Linked DNA regions of Homo sapiens: all the other regions are linked to region 2. The links are contacts of gene promoters, found by promoter capture Hi-C in blood cells and fetal thymus (Javierre and others, 2016). All regions are on one chromosome and are shown on one strand. Each heading gives the region's core, a stretch centred on a gene start or on the middle of the fragment in contact. The rest is flanking DNA. Distances are from core to core; before and after follow the strand shown.

What was found. Contacts are between HindIII fragments. The CHiCAGO score rates a contact against its expected background, and 5 or more counts as called.
Region 1: the fragment with the promoter of FBXO32 here is called in contact with the fragment with the promoter of ZHX1 in region 2 in 1 of 17 cell types (fetal thymus); the score reaches 5.1 in fetal thymus.
Region 3: a contact is called between a fragment that was not itself captured here and the fragment with the promoter of ZHX1 in region 2, in 1 of 17 cell types (non-activated CD4 T cells). The highest score is 5.2, in non-activated CD4 T cells.
Region 4: a contact is called between a fragment that was not itself captured here and the fragment with the promoter of ZHX1 in region 2, in 4 of 17 cell types (total CD8 T cells, naive CD8 T cells, naive CD4 T cells and 1 more). The highest score is 6.6, in total CD8 T cells.

Annotation. Positions count from the first base shown.
Region 1 is chr8:123,539,945-123,542,644 of GRCh38, reverse strand. FBXO32 (F-box protein 32) reads left to right here and starts at 1,439. Exons shown (of 9, transcript NM_058229.4): 1 at 1,439-1,746. The coding sequence starts at 1,631. RefSeq lists silencers at 913-1,202, 1,293-1,402, 1,453-1,542. The HindIII fragment of the contact is 4,426 bases long and covers 101-2,700 here.
Region 2 is chr8:123,272,990-123,275,689 of GRCh38, reverse strand. It overlaps ZHX1 (zinc fingers and homeoboxes 1), which reads left to right and starts at 1,404. Exons shown (of 4, transcript NM_007222.5): 1 at 1,404-1,473. ZHX1-C8orf76 (ZHX1-C8orf76 readthrough) reads left to right here and starts at 1,404. Exons shown (of 6, transcript NM_001204180.2): 1 at 1,404-1,473. RefSeq lists an enhancer at 54-173 and silencers at 654-1,343, 1,544-1,743, 1,780-2,147. The HindIII fragment of the contact is 9,533 bases long and covers 1-2,700 here.
Region 3 is chr8:122,794,915-122,797,614 of GRCh38, reverse strand. All of the region lies in intron 1 of ZHX2 (zinc fingers and homeoboxes 2), which reads right to left. Among named protein-coding and RNA genes, the nearest start is that of ZHX2, 15 kb to the right of the region's middle. RefSeq lists enhancers at 285-374, 1-454, 2,135-2,254, 2,565-2,684 and a silencer at 2,345-2,444. The HindIII fragment of the contact is 2,746 bases long and covers 10-2,700 here.
Region 4 is chr8:123,688,706-123,691,405 of GRCh38, reverse strand. It overlaps ANXA13 (annexin A13), which reads left to right. Exons shown (of 11, transcript NM_004306.4): 9 at 2,460-2,535. Among named protein-coding and RNA genes, the nearest start is that of KLHL38, 36 kb to the right of the region's middle. The HindIII fragment of the contact is 2,754 bases long and covers 1-2,700 here.

The DNA.
Region 1 (2,700 bases), core at 190-2,689, 270 kb before region 2:
AATTCCCTCCAACAGAGACCAGACCCAACACTGCCTCATTTGTTAGCACCATCACAGTGTTTAACATTTGTTTGGGACTTCTTCAATGTTTTTACAAGCTTTTTTTTTACTATTACTACACTAATAAATTATTTACGGTGGGAAATCTAAATCAGAAAGCTCTGGCTTCTTGAAAACAAACTTTATTAAAAACGTCTTCCCAGTCCAACATGTAGCCTCATAGGGCACACACAATTTCTTTGCCTGAGCCTTAAAGATTACACCGAGTCAGTGGACTAGATGATATTGATGGCTGCAGAGAAAGAAGAATGGAAGAATGAAGTTTGAAGCTAATGCTTGAGTATGGGATTTTTACTCTGCTGCTGCTGTCCTGTGCAAACTAATTGCCAAATAGACCAGGCTGTAAAGCATCATAACTAGAGGTGATGAAGGGCAAGAAGCCACCCTCATGCCAGCAGCCTCCCGTATCCATTCACTTATTCACACAAATAGTTGTTGAAGGCCTGCACTGGGCCTGGCAGGGTGCAGGGGCTGAAATGCCTCCGGAACAAGACAGACCAGCTCTCATGGAGTTCCCACTGCAGACAGGGGTAGATTGTTGTAACAACAGCAAAAAGTAAAAGCAAACAGGGTAGTTTCAGATTGTACTGTAGCATTGGCCCTGGGTACATCATTTAACCCGTCTCTTAGAGGGTTCGGGTAGGATAGGGGCGCTGTTCTTTTTCTCCACTCCCAACCTGCGGGAGCCAGATACCTCCCAGGGCTTCCTCTCCTTCCCCTCCTTTGCTGCCCCAGGGGCAGGTCTGAAGGAGGACTGGTTAGTGACAGCTAAGGGGCCCGGAGGGCTGGGAGGCTGTCCCTCCTCCCCGCTCCAACCCCCGCGCGCTAGGGCGGGGTTGGGGCAGTGAGCGAGGTCAGGAGGCTGCGCCCCCTACTCCCCGCCCGGCGGGCGCGGTGCCGGCCCCAGCTCTGCGGACGGCCCGGGAGGCTGATCTGGCTGCGGAGGTCGATCCTGATAGCTCGGGGGCAGGAGGGGGGCTGGCCCTGCTCCTCACGCCCACCCCGCAGGGACCCAGACGCCCCTCCGGCCCCCTCCCTGCACCCCGTCAGCCCGGGAGCTGCAGGAGACCGGGGCGCATCTTTCCAAGCGCCGGGCCTCGCTCTGGGACAACGGTGTCCTGGGGGCGGGGAGGGCGCGCGGAGGTGCCAGGGGCGGCGGGGTACCCGGCCCGGCAGCACCGCTTCAAGTTTCCACCGGCGCGGTTGTGCAACCGGGAGGGGAGCGTGAGCCGCAGGCGCCTCGGAAAACAAGCCGAGCCCATAAACAAAGCCACGTGGCCTCCGGGCCGGGGGGCCGGGCTAAGAGCGGGCGGCTCTTCCGGCAACAAAGAGCTGCGGCCGGCTGCGGGGATAAATACTGCGGCAGCTACTGCCGCGCAGCACTCCCGGAGCCTGCAACGCTTGAGATCCTCTCCGCGCCCGCCACCCCGCAGGGTGCCCCGCGCCGTTCCCGCCGCCCCGCCGCCCCCGTCGCGGGCCCCTGCACCCCGAGCATCCGCCCCGGGTGGCACGTCCCCGAGCCCACCAGGCCGGCCCCGTCTCCCCATCCGTCTAGTCCGCTCGCGGTGCCATGCCATTCCTCGGGCAGGACTGGCGGTCCCCCGGGCAGAACTGGGTGAAGACGGCCGACGGCTGGAAGCGCTTCCTGGATGAGAAGAGCGGCAGTTTCGTGAGCGACCTCAGCAGGTGAGGGGACCCGCTACCAACTTCCAGCCCCCGCGAAACTGACCCGGGCTGGTCTGGGGGGCGCAGGGACGGCGAATGAGGGGCAGGCAGGGCTGGAGCGGGCTGAGGAGGGAGACCCTGACCCGGAGGGTGGGACTACGGGGCCCGATTTCTGCAGAGGTCTTCGGACCACCGGAGACAGGGAATTCGGTTTCTCTTATTGTTCAAGGTCAGTGTCTCCAAGTGGACACGACTCCTTACAGAACACCTGGTCCCTCTGAGAGTCTGATGACATTCGCGGATCGTGTCCCCAAACGTTCGCTCAAACTTAATCACACAGCTTTAGTGGTCCCTGCTTTAAGGACACCGGAGTCGCGCACTTTGCCCATGTGGGGGCGCGGGCGGGTGGGCTGAGCCCCTTCACCGCGGGGTGGCCCGGCTCCCAGCGCCCAAGCGCTGTGGACGCGACAGGTGACGGGATCCGACGAAGGTCCCGCCTGGAGCGCTTCCAGGCCCTGCCCAGGCACGGGCAACCACGAAGTGGCCGGGAGGATGAGTAACCAGGAAGGGACGGCCAGATGGTCCCTGGGGCAGCCGCTTACTGGGCGGACTTGCGAGCGGTGGAGGCTTGGGGCTGCAGAGGTGCAAAGGAGGGAAGGGGGCAGGGGATGAATCCCACAAGAGCTCTGCTTCTGGGAGGACAGGGCTCTTGCACCTGTTTCCTCGGTGGCCCTCTCGGTCGGTCTGCTTTGTATAGAGTGCACTCCGTTTCCAGGGGTGCCTGTCAGCTGCGAAAAGCCTGCCTGGCCCCGGTGAGCCTCTGGATTCGAGGCCTCACCTGAGCTCTGTGGTCTGGCGGGAAACCTGAGGTCCGCTGCGCTCCCTGCTCAGCTTGGCTAACGATGCCAGCGCCGGCTAGTACGCAAGGTAGCCTGGAATTTCTCAGCCCCTGACCTCGACAGTTGACTTTCAGAG
Region 2 (2,700 bases), core at 155-2,654:
AGGTGACGGGCCCCTGTAATCCCAACTACTCGGGAGGCTGAGGCAGGAGAATCGCTTGAACCCGGGAGGCAGAGGTTGCAGTGAGCAGAGATCGCGCCATTTCACTTCAGCCTAAGCGACAACGCGAGACTCCGTCTCAAAAAAAAAAAAAAAATCAGACTTCCACTTGAAGCAATTGCATCTTTTAGGATTAATGTGGCTCAGCGGAGCTCTGCTGTGCTTTTAGGATTACTGTGGCTCAGCGGAGCTCTGCACAAAGGGTCCGCGACTGGGATGGGGGTGGGGAGTGAACGTCAAGGGGCCCAGGAGCGCTCGAGCGTCCAAGGCCCGGCGTGTGGAGCAGCTGGAGGGTGAGTCGCCGCTCTCCGCTTTGGTTCTGTTCCTCCACGTTCTGACCGCGGTGCGGGGGAAAGGGAAAGTGAGTAGGGAGGGGCGGAGACGCCGGGCAGTGTTCCCGAAACCCCTGGCCCTCGCTGGCCCCGCTGCGGGGCTGGTTCCCTGAAAGCCGACGGGATGTGAAGCCCTCGACTCGGACAGAAGCCTCTGGAAGAGCGAGTGGCGGTTCGCAGGGAGGAGGGCGGCTGAGGGGCAGAGGGCGGCTCCGCCTTGCCCGGCGGTTCTGAGTGCAGCTGAACTGAACTTTCGGTGTCAGCGGGTGGAGCTGCGGCCCGCGGAGGAGCGGGGTCCGAAGCGAGGAGAGGTGGAGCTGCCGCTGACAAGGGGCGCGGCGACTTCTGTCAGGGCGCTGGGCTCCCGGCCGGACTCGCAGCAGCCCCCCGAGGGGCGGGGCCTGGGTCGTGTCGCCCCAGGGGATGGGCGTGTGATGACAAGGGGCGTTTCAGTAGAAGCCAGCATGCTTACCTCTCACGATCCAGCAGTGACATTAGGAAGGCGGAGCGCAAGGAAGGCGGGGCTGCCTTCTGTGCTGACCCGAGAGAAGACCAGGCTTCAGTCCACAGCGGGCGGAGCGGTCGCAGGCAAAGGGCGGGGCCATTTCGAGCCCTGGGAAGGCGGGGCGTCTCCTGACAGGGGGCGGAGCTTCCGCAGTCTGGGGCGGGGCTTCTGTTGACAGGGGGGCGGGGCGCCTCCCTACCTCCCGCGGTGCGCCAATCCCCGGACTAGGGGCCGGGGTCGGACCCCAGTGGAGTAGCAGGGTCTGGGCGTGGAGAGCTCGGCGCCGCACGGGGTGGGGGCGCGCGGAGGACGCGCGCGCGGGAGGGCCCCGCCTTGGCCGGCTCTCTCCCTTCCCCCTCCGCCCCCGGACGGCCGCTGGGGCGCGCGCCTCTCCTCGCACCCCCACCCTGAGTCCCCACACTCCGCGGGGCCACCGAGCTGCTGAGGCCCCTTTGCGGGCCCGCCGAGCGGTTCCGGGTTTAGGGTTCACAGGTCAGAGTTGACTCCCTGAAAAGTGCAGCCGGTTTGAAATGCAAGATGGCGGCGGCGTGGCGCTGAGAGGCGCGGCGGCCCCTGCAGGTAGTGGCGCGAGCCGGCTCCGCGACCAGCGGGCCCGGAGACTCTGGGCTGCGGGTGGGAACTGGAGCGCAGAGTCCGCGGCCGGCACGGGAAAGGCGAGTAGCGCGGGGCCTGGCGGGAGGAGGGCAGCCTCACAGCAGAGACCCCTGGGGCTGAGCCCGCTCGCGGCGGCGGGTGGCGGGGTGGACCCGGCGTGGGGCGTCCGAGGGGGAGGGACGGGGCCTGCCTCGCGGCTGGGTAGTCGCCGCAGAGGGACAGACAGACCCACAGCCTCCCTCGCTCTTTTTGGGTGTCTCCGCCACCGAAAGAGCTTGGGGGCGGGGGGCTCTCTGGAGGGAACATCTCAGCCCCCTGCCTTGGTGAGGACCCAGCAACTTAGGATTGTTGAGAGGAGTGAAGACTGCGTATTCCCAGCGGAGGGCGCCGCCGGAGGGAGCACCCCAGTAATGTTGGGAGTCCTAGAGGAGGTCAGGAGCGCTGTCCTCCGGGGGCGTGTGGCTGCCTCGTGGGGGACCCAGTCTCCCTGAGAGTAAGGAGAGATTCTCTTGCTGGAGCTGAGCGCACTGACTGAGGTTGGAGCCCCAGCAAACCCTTCAGGAGAAGTCTTTACCTCCAGTTCAAGGAAGGCTATGCGCACCCGTTTCGGGGCCAGGCCATGTCCCAACTTTGGGAAAGACTGGGAGTTGAGTCCTTAAGAACCATATTACGATTGTGACGAAGCCCTGGGATTTAGGGAGAAGTTAATTAAAGAGGATGGTAGGGGCGTGGGGGTGTGGGGGCTGACCCATGGGAATCCTCCAAGCCTTAGGGCCCACAGTGAACAATCTACTAATACCTCAAGGGGTATAAAAGGCTGGGAAGGAGAGGTGTGAGAGGAACAAGGTCTAAGGGCAGGAAAGAAGAGCCCTGGCAGATCCCCTTTCCTTATATATTTACACCAAAGTTGGAGGTAAAGGGACTTGGCAATTCTTTGTTTTAGTACCTTTCCTGTCCTCTCTCCTCCGTGGGTAACTGTAAGGAAAGAGCATAGCCCCTGAGAAGGAAAAGATTCCATTTGATATCCTTAGCTTAGGTTAGTGAAGGATCCAGCAGCTGGGAAGGCGTCAATGAGAGACAGCAGGCGGGGGAATTAGAACAGAGACTAGGGATGAGAAAAGAGGAATACAGGGAAGATATCGGACAGAGCAGGAATTCCACAGCCCTTTTCTGTCAACTCAGCCCAGCTAT
Region 3 (2,700 bases), core at 133-2,632, 480 kb after region 2:
CAGGAAGCTTCTGTTCAGGTCTGGACTTTGCCCCGAAACTTTGTCGGCCTGGATTCAGGAATCCTGTTCAAGGTAAAAGGGAAATTGGTTGCCTTGCTGAGCGGAAGAGAAAAGGCACAATGCTTGCTGAAGCAGCACAGCCAGCCCAGGGTTCTCTGTGCAGAAACAGGCACTACTGGCCCGACGGTCATGTGCTTCCCCCACAGTCTCCAGGCTCCTTGCGGCTTTGCGAGGTTGTGTGAGCAGAAGTGGCAACTTTAGAAAGTGGGTACATACCCCTTTCCTTTTCTCTTCCTCTCCTCCAGCAGCCTGAAAGCCAGTTGTTTCAAATGAAGTGGCTACAAAATTTTAGCAGCGTGGATCCCCAAGTCACAGCTTGGAGGAAAGCTGCCTTACAGAGCTGTAGTCCTTCAGTGGACTTCATGAAAGGAAGAAATAAACTCTGCCTTATGAAGCCACTGGGATATTGGGGTTTACCTGTCACTGTATCATAGCTTAGCCTAACCTGATTACTCACATATCTCATCCAATGCCTATCCCAGAGGTTTCCTGCACCTGAAGGAAACCAAAATACTTTTCTCCAAACTATTGAGGATCGTTAAGTGAAAGACATTGACAATGCCAAGGAACCCCCTGGCCGGCCTGCATCTGCCTGATGGGAGGACACAAATCTTTCCTTACTGGAGACAGCACGGACTTAGGAGACCAAAGGAGGCACCAGCAGGCACCCGAGGAATCTGGGAACAGATTTTACTGTCTTCCCACATTTTCCCGCTTTTTCAAAGACTGGAACTGCTCTCTTCTTTGTCTTGTCACTATATAGGATTTATGGCCCTTTGTTAAAATACTATTTAAGCAAGGTCCCTAAGCCACCACCTTGAGAAAGAAATACTTTTAAACTAAGGCCTCTCCCATGTGATGGGCAGAGCACGCATTAATAAACGTTTGGTTGTTTGTCTTCTGTTAATCTGACTTTTATTTTCAGGACAGCGTTTCCACAAAGAACCTAAAAAGGGAAAAAAAGGAAACTAGATTTTCTCCCCTACACACAGTTGTTACAGAATGGTCTGCTATTCTATTACTTAAGCATGGGCATGTGCACACACAAATATCAGACTGGAATCCCAAGCCCATTTTCCTATTACACAAGATGGCACACTAAGATAAATCTTAGTAAGTACTAAGTAAGTACTTAGCACACTAAGTAAATCTTAATAATCCCACCATCCCACTGGTGACAAAACTGCAAGAGGACAGTGTCTTGAGGATGAGAGGCTGTGTTAGTGACAAGACGTGCCTCCAAAGGGAAAGGTAAAAGATGCTGCTGTTACTAGTTCCCGTTGTGTGGTCTCTCATAAGCAAAATCTTAAACTCTAGTGGGGAAGACAGGGCCAGTGTCTACATATCCTACTTGCTAAGGATTTAATCTTTTTTTTTTTTTTTTGAGATGGAGTCTCGCTCCATTGTGCAGGCTGGAGTGCAGTGGTATGATCTCAGCTCACTGCAGCCTCTGCCTCCTGGGTTCAAGCGATTCTCCTGCCTCAGCCTCCCAAGTAGCTGGCATTACAGGCGCCTGCCACCATGCCCAGCTAATTTTTGTATTTTTTGTAGAGACAGGGTTTCATCATGTTGGCCACGCTGGTCCCGAACTCCTGACCTCAGGTGATCTGCCTCCTCCGGCCTCCCAAAGTGCTGGGATTACAGGCGTGAGCCATCGCGCCTGGCCTTAACACAGAATCTTTATGTCCTTTACATAACAGTCCAGCACTGTGACAGGGCAAGTATATGGGATCAGATGTCACTCAGACCTGGCTTCAAATCCCAGCCTTGCCTTTTACTGTGTAACTCAGGCAAGTTAATTTCTTTGAAGCCTTAATTTCCTCATATGTAAAATGAGTATAAAAATTTCTACCAATGGGGGTAGTTGGGATTAAATAATATAAAACAAGGTATAGTATACAACATGCTTGGTTCAATGGCTGACACTTAACACATTTACATCCTGCCTTCCTACCACCATTAAATAGCATTTGATCTCAAGTTCAGACTCTATTAAAAAAAAAAAGTTTACTATTGGAAGTACCAGAAAGATCCTGCAAGGACAGTTGTGATATTGCTCTATGTGCCACAAAGGAAGGTGGAGATGGTGCTCCCAAGAGGAAACAAGGGATAAGGCCAGGCCCAAGGGAGGAAGTGGACCCAGCTTGCGCCCAGAGGCCAGATGTCCAGACAAGGGAGCAGGGCTAGGCCAGGGAGGCAGGCAGGTTGGCCAAGATAGGCCAAAAGCACCTGAACTTGGGACAAAGCTGGCCTGGGATAGACACTGCCTTGACTGCTTCCTGTTACAAAATAGTCCAGTGACAGTCCTTCCAGGCTGTGGCAATGACCTGCCACCAGGGGCAGCAGCGAGCAGCAACTCATTCTGCACCTGTGCCAACCCAGGAGCATAGAACTTCCTATAGGCTGTAGTGACAGAGCCACTTCCTCATTCATATAACCATCCAGTCATTCCACAGACATTAATTTTGAGCCTATGAAGTGGGCCAGCCCTGTGCTGGTGCTGGGAACACGGAGACAAACAGGAAGATTTCCCTTGGGGTGGAGAAGTGGCTCATAGTATTTCAGGGATGCAGATGTACAAACAGATCAAAATCCACCAGCTTAGATTTCTAACAGGTTATTTCCATGGTACACTGGCCT
Region 4 (2,700 bases), core at 98-2,597, 420 kb before region 2:
GATGATTCTTTACATGAAACCAGCTCTAAAATGCTATCTATTCATCCATTTCAAAAGCCTTGCTCAAGTGTCATTCTTGATATTTATTGCTGATGTTTTTAGAGTTCAGCCTGCTCTTAGACCCTGGTTCTATGATTTTTCTGATGGCTTCTGACCAAAAGCACAGAGATGCTAGTCTGAGATCACTGGAGTTTCTTATGTGGCATGAGTCGTCCTGGCTTAGGGTTGAATTTTAATTTTCAGCACAAAAACTCAGGGTTTTGCCATTTATTTATGCTCTAAGCCTGAGTCTTAACTTCTGACACTCCCAGCAATCCCAGGCCACGCAACAGTTTCCCAAACTTCTGCATCATGCAGGATTATTACAGTCCCCAGCGTTACCAAATATGAAAGACTTATATAGCTATAAAACCAAAGTAAAGTCCCCAAACAGGGCTCAGCATAAACAGTAGGTATGCATACCCATAGCCCACTTTGCTGCCACCTCACTGCGTGCCTCACCCTTTGCCCCTCCCCTGTACATGTTCCTTATTCCACGCCAGAGGCTTCAGCCCTCTAACTGCTATAGTCAGTGCCAGAGCACAGAGGGCTCTGCTGTCAGCGTGCCGTCCATTTGGGGAAACCGATTTTCAAAGAAAGAAATGTCTCCCCTGCTCCTCTAATAACCTCCCTGCAGGCATTGCTGCCTGTTTAACTAGAGTCTTAGAGACTTGTTTGGAATCTACCCTTATAATGTGTTTTTCTACTGAGATCAGAAAATCTGCTTCTGTACAAAGAGCCCCTAAGAATCACGTTGCAGTAACTGAAGTGAGAAGTATCCAAAGTACAGTCCCAACAGCTTGGGCCAGACCATTGTTTCAGATTGTGTCCCACGGAGACGCCTCAGCAGCTACCAGGAGTAGGGTGGGGCAGGAAGCAGACAGGGCAGTACCTTCTTGTTGCAGTGTGTGAATAGCGCCTCCTGGAGTTGTGCAAGGAAAAAACCTGAGCGGGCAAAAACATGGTATAGATGCCAATGGCAAGGGAAAGGAGCCCACCTCCCGCCTCCCAGCACAGCTCTGCTTTCTGCTTTCATCTGTTTTGTAGGCTGAGATTCTACAGAAAATTTAAAATCCCTGCTCTAGCCTGGTATTAACAATAGAAATGGAAAACGGTTTAATGTGAGGATTTTTTAAAGTAAACAAGACCTGTGTGAACAAAATGTTCTCTTGAAGTATGATCTCAGTCTACAGAACAAGAACCTTGTTTCTGGGAAAGGGATACCAATCCCTTCCAAAATAATGACTCCCACATCAAACCCAAAAAAGACTGGGGGCAGCTAAGGAAGGGACAGTTCCCCCACTCTTCTAATCTGGTTTCTATTGCCACACACCAAGGCCTCCAGATATGCAAACAATGACTAGGAGATCAAGCAACAGGGCTTCATTAAATCTGGACACAGTTCCTCCCCCGACATATATTGTGCTTACATCACAAAGAACATTTTGTTTACCTGTGTTTTCAAAATAAACCACATAAACTCCACTGGTGCATACTCAAAGTCCCCAATTATTTATAGAATCAATTGTGTCATATCCTCAAAAGATAATTTCTAAGAAAGAAATTTCAGTGTTTCTAATGCTTAATTGCATTTCTCCAAACCCAGCAAAGCATTCTCCTTTCTCTTTATGTGCCTGCCCTGAGCTTGGCCCGGGCAGTATTTGTGTTAAGGATAGTCACAATTTACTCTGAACTTCAGCTTCTGTAAATATTTAGAAAGAAACCTAATGTGTAATGCTGCGCAGAGCAATATGTGAGCCAGTGGTGAATATAGGATTATTTGGAATCACCCCAGAGTGAAGACAAGTGGCATTTTGATGTGGTCAGCACCCCCGGCTCCCAGCCCTTGCAGACCCACCCTCTCAGGAACTTTAGATCAAGTTGTTATCATGAACTTCACCATGCCTACTTATTTCACTCAAACTGTGACTAAGTCCCTGGTCCCAAGACAAGGGAGAGGATGGAGGTGCATGTCAGATGATCATAACCACAGCCTCCTGGGAAATTGAAACTGGAAAGGGTGAAGAACACATGGGAACTAAACTACACATCAATGTTAAAAAAAAAATCTATGATTATAGTATATATAATATATTAATTATATATATTATAATATATATTATATATTAATTGTTTCTCCACTCCCAAATTTTACAGATGAGGAAATTGAGGTTGAGGGAGTGGCACTAAGGTCAAATCCATTGGGAGTCAAATCTAGACTGACTCCTCAGCAACGAGAGCCCTCTCTCGAATGGGTGGCAAACACCCCAATCCTACAAGGCAAGAGTCAGGATAGCAGTTCCCTGAAGCCACAGGACTAAATCTGGAAAACTTGAGTGCTTTTTGTAGAGGAACAACCCCAAGAGTACTAAGGTCAAAGGCAAACCTGGAATAACAGTTGATTTTGGTTTTCGCTGCAGCTCATTGGCAAAGACATAGAAGAAGCCATTGAAGAAGAAACATCAGGCGACTTGCAGAAGGCCTATTTAACTCTCGGTAAAGTAAAGTTAGGAGAGCTCCTGTCTTAGGTTGGGCTGCCTGGAACCAGACTCAGACAGAGGTTTGTGTGTAGGAAGATTTGAGGGAATAGCTTTTGGGGGTCAACAGGTCTAAGCAGCACTGAGCAAGAGAGAGAGTGACTGTGATGTAGTTGCAACAGGG